Regions from separate parts of the Homo sapiens genome. Here all the other regions are linked to region 1. The links are contacts of gene promoters, found by promoter capture Hi-C in blood cells and fetal thymus (Javierre and others, 2016). All regions are on one chromosome and are shown on one strand. The core of a region is centred on a gene start or on the middle of the fragment in contact, and the rest is flanking DNA. Distances in the headings are between cores, read along the strand shown. Region 1 holds the start of SEC24D (SEC24 homolog D, COPII component). Region 2 overlaps USP53 (ubiquitin specific peptidase 53). Region 3 holds the start of LOC102723967 (a long non-coding RNA gene).

Region 1 (3,610 bases), core at 484-2,983:
TATGCACCTATATTTAGGGGACTAAGGAAAAAAAGTGTAATTTTGTAAGTGTGTAGGCACACACATCACAAATATAACAGACTCATCTTGATTTTTTTTAAATCTTGATTCTAATCAGAACCCAAATTTGCTTTAAATTTTCTATTTTTTCCAGGTTTTAACAAAATAAGAGATATTTCATAGGACTGATGATTTAAAAAAAAAAATTAAATACGACAGAAAATGCTTTGAATGCAAGAGAAGTGGGTTTCCATTCTATGTCTGCCATACTTAACTGTGTGACATGGAATGAGCTGAAGAACCTCTCTAAGCCTCAGTTCCTTCTTTTAGAAAATGAAGCCTTTCCAGATTTCCACTGATTCTACAATTTATCTCCAGTTTATTTGCCCCATACAAGCATATTCTTCCTTTTGTTCTTTTATTTGCTACAATTTAAGATAAGAGATCAGTGATACCTGCTAAGACTTAGAATCTGTCTATATTCAAGAAATAACATTTCAAATTAAAAATTTGAAGCCTAAAATTTGTGATTTGATTTTGTTTCCATATTAAACTATAAGTTTCCAAAATAAAAGCAACCATGTAAAAATATTATGAGATCATTTCCTTCTCCTGGGAAGGGGAGAACTGAAAAAGAGGAGAGAGGCAGGCAAAGGCCTTCTGGTCCACTTTGTTTCTGACAACCCCTTTTTCCTCCTCCCACTTAGCAGAGAGAGACGTGGCAGCCTGAGCGCTGGTCAAGCTCATCCAACCAAGAGCACTTAGGAAGTCGGCACGAACACACCTAAGTAGCAGCCTGTTGCTGAGTGACAGAAAAGAGAGGCTGAGATGGTCACTCCAAAGAACAGGAAGCAGCCAGTTCCCTCTGAACTGGTCCTCAGAGGAATCAGCTTCCTCACGCAACCCAGTTTGCCACGTCAAACTTCCTCACACAGAGCACCAAGTTAAAGAAACCTGACTCAGCTTCAAGCGGCGACACGGCAGAAAGCCACTTGGTATAAGCAGGCCTAGGATCAAAATCTGGGGAGCCCCAACCCCAGAACGGCCCCCTGGCTCACTGTCACCCAGCAACTCTAGCCAAGGTGCACTTCTAACCCTGGAACAAGTTCGTATTTGGCCAGATCAGTTTCACTATTCGGATGTCCCGAGGCTTCAAGATATAGTTGCCATTTTTACCATGAATATTTCTAACATTTCCTTCCTTCAAAAAAGGAAATTAAGTTGATAAGGAGATGAGAAAACCGCTGGCAATGACACTCGAATGGTGGCCACTGAGGATCCTAACAAGGCAGTTCCTGCATCCCAAGGCAAAAGGTGGGGGCGGGTAAAAAATGCCCACGCCCACCTCCTGCTCCCCCATCCCGCCGGCCCCACTATTAAACTGCACTAGAAGGCTAAAGAACAAAGAATGAGTTCTCCTCCCGCCGCCACTGCCTCAGGTGAGCACCCGGCCTCCCGCCGCGTCCCCGGGCCGGGCGCCGCAACCCGCTCCGCTGTGCCTGGGCAGGGCTGTCCCGCATGAAGGCGTCCGCGGGTGGGAGGCTTTACCTGTTCCCGCTCCCGCACCCCGCGGGCTTCCGAGCGCTGGCGGCTCTGCGCCTAGTGCCGGCAGCCCTCGGTGGCCGGGCTCCCGCTGCGGTCGCTTCTCCCGCCGCGCCTCTTCCCCGGCCGGCGTCCCCTTAGCCTGGACTCACGCTCGGAGTTGCAGCTGGGCTGGGAACTGCCACGTCAAACCCTTTCTCGGCTGCGCGCCCCCAGCGCCGGGCTTGGACCAGCCGCCGCGCTCCCGCCTGCGCACGCGCACAGCCACCGGCCGCCGCGGGGCGGGGCCACCGGGCTGAGCCTGCGAGCGGCCGAGCGACCTCCCCCTTTTCGCTTTTTCCCTTTTTCCGGTTTTTTGTTTTTTGGTTTTCTTTTTCCCGTCTTTTCTTTCCCCTCCCCCTACAGGTCAAAGCCTTTAACGTCGTGGCTAAATCAGAACCGTATTTTCTCGGCGCAGCCCCGCAGGAAGGAGGGGAGCGCGTTCATTCATTCTTCCATCAACAGGTTGCAGTTTCAGCTCTTCATTCATTACGTATTACTTAAATAACTAATAGTTCAGGTACTGCACTACCGTTACATACGGGAAAGTACACGATCTGGACCTAGGGGAGATTACCGTTTAAAGGCGAATCTGGCACGTGTACACGCACATTTGATGACGTACCCGTGCAATGCACTACAGAGGAAGGAACGCCCAAAGCAGCCTGGCAACGTGTAACGCGGGAGGAGTGGGGGGTGGGGGAGATGTCCCAAAGGAAAAGTGTGGGAAGTGGGGTTTCCATTGATATTGGGGTTGTTAGCGTTGTGTATACTCCTTCTTCCGCATATTCCTTGTTTGTGAAGTAGGATGGCTGATCCCAGCCCCAAACAGGAATCTCTGCATGGAAAAGCACCCAGCGTTTAGCTCACCGTCCTGTGAGAAACAGCTCAGAAATAAAGGCAACCTATATGAGATCTGGAGCTTACCTCTCTATCTCACCCTAAAATCAGGACCATCTGGCTGGTTTCCTATCATCTTTCACTGCTAAATAGAAAGACATTCAGCCACTCCCAGGTTTGGTATAGCTACCACTTTGCTCAAACTTACAAAGTAAAAACCAGCCCGGTGTTGTTGTTTTTAACATGCACTTTCTTCCCGGCTACAAGAAAGCCACTTGACAAATACCTTTACTGATGAACTGCCTAGGTAAAAACGTACATGGGGATGTTGCTACTCCCGAAATGCTACATGAATTGTGCAGGAATTTTAAGTCATTTTAGCAGTAAAGATATATGGTCCATTTATCCCACTCTTAAAAGTTTTTAAGGCATGGGGCAAGGCACAGTGGCTCACACCTGTTATCCCAGCACTTTGGGAGGCCAAGCAGGGAGGATTGCTTGAGGCCAGGAGGCAGTGAGCTATGATCACACCACTGCGTTCCAGCGTGGGCAACAGAGTGAGACCCTGTCTCAAGAAAAAGAAAAAAAGATTTTAAGGTAAGATATCTGGCCTACATCCAGCTTCAACACTGATCAGGTTTGAAAACCCACATTGAAATTTTTGTTTTAAATTGTTTCTTGTATTCTCAATGTGATGAAAATGTTCAGTGGAAGTTTAGGAAGTTTTGGCCGGTGTTGAAGCAGTACAGCTTGTAAAAGCAGTGAAAGAACTTGTCATATAACAGCTACATTACAAGGAGCGAGTGAAGCTATGATACAAAGATAGGAGAGAGTAAAGTCAGAAACAGTCACACCATGTGATGACCTGCTTGACTTGTTACCCCTATAAAACCACTACTTTTGAATTGTAAATACATCCTCACCTCCTGCTCAGGTACCAAACTTGTCTGAAACCAGGACAATTTGTGGTTTCAATTCTAAAACAGTTTTTAATTCCTAAATGTTAAAGCTGGAAGGGACTTGGCCGGGCGCGGTGGCTCACGCCCGTAATCACAGCACTTTGGGAGGCCGAGGCGGGCGGATCACGAGGTCAGGAGATCGTAGACCATCCTGGCTAACACGGTGAAACCCCGTCTCTACTAAAAATACAAAAAATTAGCCGGGCATGGTGGCGGGCACCTGTAGTCCC
Region 2 (3,610 bases), core at 807-3,306, 400 kb after region 1:
CTATCTAAAAGCACAAACCATCCCACATTATATATACTTCCTATCCCCTTTTCTTAGATTGCTTTTGTTACTACTTATCATGTAACCCTTCTGGTACACTCTACAATTTATTATTCCTTAAGGTATTGTCTGCCTTTCGTCATTATAATGTTAGTTTCAGTGACTGGTTCAATACATGGCTCAAAAAATGTTGAATGAAATAATTCATCAACGAAATTCAGTTGATTAGACAAAACTGTTAGTAATACAGGTATACCACTGAGGTATTGCAGGTTTGATTCCAGACCACTGCAATAAAGCAAGTTGCAGGAATTTTTTTGTTTCCCAGTGCATATAAAAGTTATGTATACACTATACCACAGTCTATTAAGTGTGCAAAATAGCATTATTTCTAAAAAGACAATGTATATATCTTATTTAAAAACTATTGTTAGAAAATGCTAATGATCATTTGAGCTTTCAGTAAGTTGTAATCTTTTTGGTGGTAGAGGGTCTCGCCTTGATGTTGATGGCTGCTGACTGAATCAGGGTGATGGTTGCTGAAGGTTGAGGTGGCTGTGGCTATTAAAATAAGGCAACAATGAAGTTTGCCACATTGACTCTTCCTTTCACCAAAGATTCCTCTGTAGCATGTGACACTGTTTGATAGCATATTCCCCACCACAGATCTTCTTTCAGAACTGGGGTGGAACCCTGGCACTGCAGTAATGGTTCTAAACCCTTTGTTGTCATTTCAACAATGTGCACAGCATCTTCACCAGAAGTTGATTTCATCTCAAGAAACCACTTTCTTTGCTCAGCCGTAAGAAGCAATTCCCCTGTTCAAGTTTTATCATGAGATTGCAGCAATTCAGTCACATCTTCACACTCCACTTATAATTTTAGTTCTCTTGCTGTTTACATCCAGTTACTTTCTCCACTGAAGTCTTGAGCCCCTCAGAGTCATTCATAAGTGTTGGAATCATTAACCAAATATCCTGGTAATGTTGATATTTTGCCCTCCTCTTGTGAATCCTGATTGTTCTTTATGGCATCTAGAATGGTGAATCCTTTTCAGAAGGTTTTCAGTTTACTTTGCCCAGTTCCATCAGAGGAATCTCTTTCTGTGGCAGCTGTGGCCTTATGAAATGTGTTTCTTAAATAATGGGACTTTAAAGTCAAAATTACTCCTTGATTCATGAGCTGCAGAATGGTTATTGCAGGGATGAAAGCAACATTAATCTCTTTGTACATCACCATCAGAAATCTTGGGTAACCAGGGGCATTGTCAATAAACAGTAATATTTTGAAAGGAATATTTTCTGAGCAGTAGGTCTTCAACTGTGAGCTTAAAATATTCAGTAAACCATGCTGTAAACAGATGTGCTGTCATCCAGGCTTTGTTGTTCCATTTGTAGAATACAGTCAGTCTAGATTTATCATGATTTTTAAGGCCCTAGAATTTTCAGAATGGTAAGTGAGCATTGGCTTCAACTTGAAGTCAACAACTGCATTATGTCCTAATAAGAGAGTCAGCCTGTGGCCAGAAAGGTGGCCGCCCCCTCGCCCGTCACGCAATGCATGTTCGTGGGGAACCTGGTGCTAAACTATTCATAGATGACCTGCTTCTGGGTCGGGGTTTTGTATGTAGCAGAGCGGCTCCCTCGCTGCTATCTATTGAAAGTCAGCCCTCGACACAAGTGTTTGAAAAAATTAAAAAATAATTAAAAAAAAAAAAGACAGAATCAGCCTGTCCTTTGAAGCTTTGAAGCCAGGCATTGACTTCTTTCTGACTGTGAATGTCCTAGATGGCATCTTCTTCCATCTGTCAATATCACTGTCAGTCTTCAACTGTTTCTTCCACAGATGACAGTCTTCATCTGTCAAACAGTTGATGACTGTTTCTTCAACACTGAAAATCTGTTAATTAGTGTAGCCACTTTCATTAGTTATCTTAGCTAGATTTCTGGATAATTTGCTGTAGCTTCTCCATCAGCATTTGCTGACTCACCTTGTATTTTTATGTTATGGAGATGGCATCTTTCCTTAAACCTCCTGAATCAACCTCTGCTAGCTTCCTACTTTTCTTTAGCTTCCTCACCCTCTTTTTCTCAGCTTTCGTAGAATTAAAGAGCGTTAGGGCCTTGCTCTGGATTGGGCTTTGGCTTAAAGGAATGTTGTAACTGGTTGGATCTTCTATCCAGACCACTCAAATTTTCTCACTATCAGCAATAAGGGAGTTTCACTTTCTTATCATTCAGGTGTTTATTTGAGTAACACTTTTAATTTCCTTCAAGAGCTTTCCCTTTGCATTCACAACTTGGGTTACTTACTGCTTGATGTAGGAAGCCTACCTTTCTGCCTGTCTCAACTTTCAACATGCCTTCCTCACCAAGCTTAGTCATTTCCAGCTTTTGACTGAAAATGAGAGACATGCGACTCCTTTTACTTGAACACCTAGGGGCCATTGTAGGGTTATGAACTGACGTCATTTCAGTACTGCTGCATCTCAGGGAGTAGGGAGGCCTGAGGAAAAGAGAGAGTTGGGGAAACAGATGGTCAGTGGAGCAGTCAGAATACACACATTCATGGATTATGCTTGCTATCGTATATGGGAGTGGTTCATATTGCCTGAAAACAATTACAATGGAAACATCAAAGATAACTTATCACAGATCAGCATAACAGATACAGTAATAATGAAAAAGAATTACTGAAGTGTGACATAGACATGAAGTGGGCATATGCTGTTGGGAAAATGGTGCTGGTAGATTGGCTTGCTACAGGGTTGACACACACCTTCAGTTTGTTAAAAAGGCAGTATATCTGCAAAGAGCGATAAAGTAAAATGCTATAAAACAAAGTATTCTTGCATTTGTTTGTTTTTAATTCATAGGTTTAACATTTAAAGTCCTTTTAATCAGGAGTGTGCGTTTGTTGATACCATGGAAATTTAATTCACCAAGATTTATTTATGACTTAAAGGTTTCTTTTGAATAATTATACATATCCATTTACATAAAATCTGTCTTTTTTTGGAAAAATATGATTCTATGTAAGAAGGATAACAATATATTCTAGAGCAATTTAGTGTTGACAGATACAGCATACCAGCTGAAATATAATTTATTCTAGATTTTTGGATAATATTTTCCTTAGGAAACCATCTTTTGAACATTGAGCTTAAGGTAGGTAGGGATTGATGTCACATTGATATTTTAAAAATGTAAATGATGAAATTTTTAAAAATTTATATTAGAATGCTATCAGTTCTAATCCTTTTTATGACGAGTTTTAATTCTATATTCAATATTTGTGTTCAAATGGTAAAGTTAAGAATTTTCTTATTTGCATTTGCTTTTATTTAAACTTTTTTTTCTTTTTTGTAGATTTGCTTTGAGGTCACATTGATATGAAATATGGAGTCACCTTTTATAACTTCACCTGGGAAAGAGAGAGAAAACTTTCTTGTTAAAAAAACATAAGGAAAACAAACAACCAAAGGAATCATGCCAAATGCCAACTCTACATCTTTTTGTATTATTAACATATTTTATGCATCAAGACAAATGGCTTATGCATTAAAGGGGATGATTCGTTCATCAGTATTTTTAGCCATTAAAAAAAATCG
Region 3 (3,610 bases), core at 522-3,021, 270 kb after region 1:
GATCAAAGTTAGTATGGGAAGTATCTCCGGCATGGGTAAGTTGTGAAATCAAAAGAACTGCATGTGCCAGTTGAGTTTAGTTTTTGGATAAAGTCTCATGAGCAAAAACTGAAGACAGGGTAAACATATTATATATCAATAATAAAAAATGCCCATCAACACAACATAAAAGGGGATTACTCTATAGAAATCAAACTTCATGTGGTAAAAGAAATGTTAAAATTATTAGCAAAAATTGCCAAGAGTACCTATTAAAAGAAATATCATTTCTCTCTTGACAGTCTTCTCTCCAAAATGAACTCAACAATGCAGACACTAGCAAAGAAAAAATGAACACTTCTTTAAAAATCATGCTTTAAGTTCTGGGATACATGTGCAGAACGTGCAGGTCTGTTACACAGGTATACACGCGCCATGGTGGTTTGCTGCACCCATCAACCCATCATCTACATTAGGTATTTCTCCTAATGCTATCCCTCCCCTAGCCCCCTCCCCCGACAGGCCCCTGTGTGTGATGTTCCCCTCCCTATGTCCATGTGTTCCCATTGATGAACACATTTTTAATACTATTGCCAAAGGAAAAATTTCTCTAACTTAAGCTTCGTATTTCCAAAATTTGTTTAGCAATTTTTAGGACTTTTCCTCCTGTTGGAAATTTGATGAGCATGAAGAAAAAGCTTAATGGAAGAAACAAATCCGAGGAGAGAGTTTATGGAAAATGGAGAAAGGACAATGAGAACCGACAAAGATTGAATAAGAGAGAGTAAAGAACAAGATGGTGACGTAGACTACTTATTCATTCTTTCTTTTTTCCTTTCTGCCGCAAGTATTTGTTAAGCTTTGCTAAGTGCCAGGTATTCTTCTAGGCACTGGAGATATAGCAGGGAACAAAACAAAGCACTTTCCTTTGTAAGATTTATATTTTAGTGTAGGGGCTGGCCAACTTTTTCTATAACAAGCCAAATAGTAAGTATTTTAGGCTTTGAGGGCCATGCAGTCCCCATTAGGACGTCTGAACTCTGCCATTGTAATGCAAAAGTTGTCACAGAAAGACAAACATGTGGCCATGACTGTGTTCCAATAAAACTTTATTTACTGAAACACATGACAGGCCAATTTGTCCTGTAAGCCATAGTTTGTGGAGTGCAAAGGAAAGAAGGAAGTCCAGGATGACTTCAAAGATTCTTGCTTAAGCAACTTAGTGACCATGACAATAAACAGTTTCCATGGAGCAGTACAGAGAAACTGAAGAAAGCAAGTGTAGACAAATTTTTATGTTAAAAGGGAGCAAAGAAAAGGACCACAGAAGGTGTTTTATTGTGCTTGTCTCTATTTGCAAGGTATTTTGCTTTTGTTTGATGTGAGAAAAAAAGCATAGCATGTTTCTATGATGATGGAAAAACTCCAGTAGAAAACAGGGCTGGGTGCAGTGGTTCATGCCTGTAATCCTAACACTTTGGGAGGACGAGGCAGGCGGATCACCTGAGGTCAGGAGTTCAAGACCAGCCTGGCTAACATGGTGAAATCCCTGTCTCTACTACTAAAAATACACAAATTAGCCCGGCATGGTGGTGGGCGCCTGTAGTCTCAGCTACTCGGGGGTTTGAGACAGGAGAATCACTTACCCAGTAGGCGGAGGTTGCAGCCAGGGCTACACAGCGAGACTCCATCAGGAAGAAAGAAAGAAAAGAAAGAAAGAAAGAGAGAGAGAGGAAAGAAAGAAAGAAAGAAAGAAAGAAAGAAAGAAAGAAAGAGAAAGAAAGAAAAGAAAAGAAAGAAAAAAAAGAAGGAAGGAAGGAAGAAAGGAAGGAAAAAACAACAGCAATGGAGAAAAAGAGAGGATAACTGCAGGAAGAAAGTCCATGGACCTAGAGCAGTGGCTCACACCTATAATCCTGGCGCTTTGGAAGGCCTAGGTGGCCAGACTTCTTGAACCCAGGAGTTTGAGACCAGCCTGGGCAACATAGGGAGACTCTGTCTCTACAAAAAATACAAAAATTAGCCAGGCATGGTGGCACATGCCTGTAGTCCCAGCTACTTAGGAGGCTGAGGTGGGAGGATCACTTGAGCCCAGGAGATAGTGGCTGCAGTGAGCCGTAATTGTGCCATTTCATTCCTGCCTGGGTGACAGAGTGAGACCCTGTCTCAAAAAAAAGAAAAAAAAATGGACAATTCACCTCTTGTAATAGGAAAGAGGGCAAAACATAAAGTTACAGATGCAAGTAAGTTGTCATGTATGGTTGGGGGAATGTGGATTGCTGACGGGAAGTGATGATGAGACAGAATTAAACTGACTACAGTTACCCTCTTGGTCTTTTTCTGTTTTCTACTCTCTGAAGACAATAAATATAATAACTATCATGGGCAGATAAGAACACCACAGCAGAAAATGATTTTTAGAGGAGGTGAGAGATGTCATTGGAGTGGGGGTGGGAGTACATTCCAAGAGTGACTAGTAGAGGGAGCAACCACTTTGACGAATATCATATGACCTGAGCATAAGAACGAAAATCACATTGCTGGACTGAGGGCCTGTATTCTGATGTGCAATGACTGTCATTATGTAAGGAAAGTAGGAAGTGATCAGAAGAATTTAGAAAATCTTATTAAAAGTTGAAATTATATTTAATAAGCAATATTGCTGATCCATGGGGCCCCTGTAAGGTTCTGTGAAGGGGAAGCGAAAGAAGATACTTAAGAAAGATAAAGCTTCCTATTAGTATTGGCTGTATTAAAAGACACCAACAAAGTGGTCTGTTGTTCCAGTCCAACTGGGGTCATCGCTGGCTTGTCTCAAGAAAGATATCAAAGTATAAGTCAACAAGGCTAATTTTATGTAATCACAGCTCACAGAAAAAAATTGTGATGGAAACAACTACTATACAGAAATTATATGGTAGATAGAATTAGGAATAGACAGAGAAAAACAAAGTTGACAAAAGAATCATCAATGTATAATGTAGAATTAATTTCAAAGCTCTAAAGCCCTGCAAATAAAAACATGTTTCATGAGAAATGAACTCTAGAAATCATTCATGTCCAGACAACAGTGATACCTGTGTGAGTCAGAACTAACCGTGCCTATCCTGAAATACTACATTATACCAAGTGAATGGGTAATGGTTGTAAGCTATGTTTCAAAACAAGAGGGCAGTGGGGCACATTGTCCCCATTCCTTATACCCACACCTCAACTCATGACTACCTGAAGTTCAAAGACTTCGTCCTTCAGGAACAATAAACTTTGTTTGTTTTTTGAGATGGAGTCTGGCTCTGCCACCCAGGCTGGAGTGCAGTGGCGCAATCTCGGCTCACTGCAACCTCCGCCTCCCAGGTTCAAGCGATTCTCCTGCCTCAGCCTCCTGAGTAGCTGGGATTACAGGCGCCCACCACCATGCCCAGTTAATTTTTACAATAAACTCTTAGGGCAAAATTTGTTCAAAGAAATTAGCAATCAACATGTAATCTTCGCTTTTAGATTTAACATCTCAAAATAAAACTCTGAGGCTTATATGCCAACCATCAAAACAAATCCTCATTCAAGTTGATGTATCTCGGAGCAGAGTGGTGGTCACACTCAAGGGCAAACCCATCTGGCCTTCACAAAAAGC

Evidence for each region. Contacts are between HindIII fragments. The CHiCAGO score rates a contact against its expected background, and 5 or more counts as called.
Region 2: a fragment that was not itself captured here is called in contact with the fragment with the promoter of SEC24D in region 1 in 2 of 17 cell types (naive B cells and naive CD8 T cells); the score reaches 5.9 in naive B cells.
Region 3: a fragment that was not itself captured here is called in contact with the fragment with the promoter of SEC24D in region 1 in 1 of 17 cell types (monocytes); the score reaches 6.9 in monocytes.

The regions. Positions count from the first base shown.
Region 1 is chr4:118,834,393-118,838,002 of GRCh38, forward strand. It overlaps SEC24D (SEC24 homolog D, COPII component), which reads right to left and starts at 1,734. Exons shown (of 23, transcript NM_014822.4): 1 at 1,549-1,734. RefSeq lists enhancers at 1,090-1,981, 1,602-1,896 and a silencer at 1,408-1,897. The HindIII fragment of the contact is 6,235 bases long and covers 1-3,610 here.
Region 2 is chr4:119,235,850-119,239,459 of GRCh38, forward strand. USP53 (ubiquitin specific peptidase 53) reads left to right here. Exons shown (of 19, transcript NM_001371395.1): 5 at 3,369-3,610. Among named protein-coding and RNA genes, the nearest start is that of USP53, 25 kb to the left of the region's middle. The HindIII fragment of the contact is 633 bases long and covers 1,741-2,373 here.
Region 3 is chr4:119,099,716-119,103,325 of GRCh38, forward strand. It overlaps LOC102723967 (a long non-coding RNA gene), which reads left to right and starts at 417. Exons shown (of 3, transcript XR_001741422.1): 1 at 417-455; 2 at 625-778. The HindIII fragment of the contact is 1,871 bases long and covers 837-2,707 here.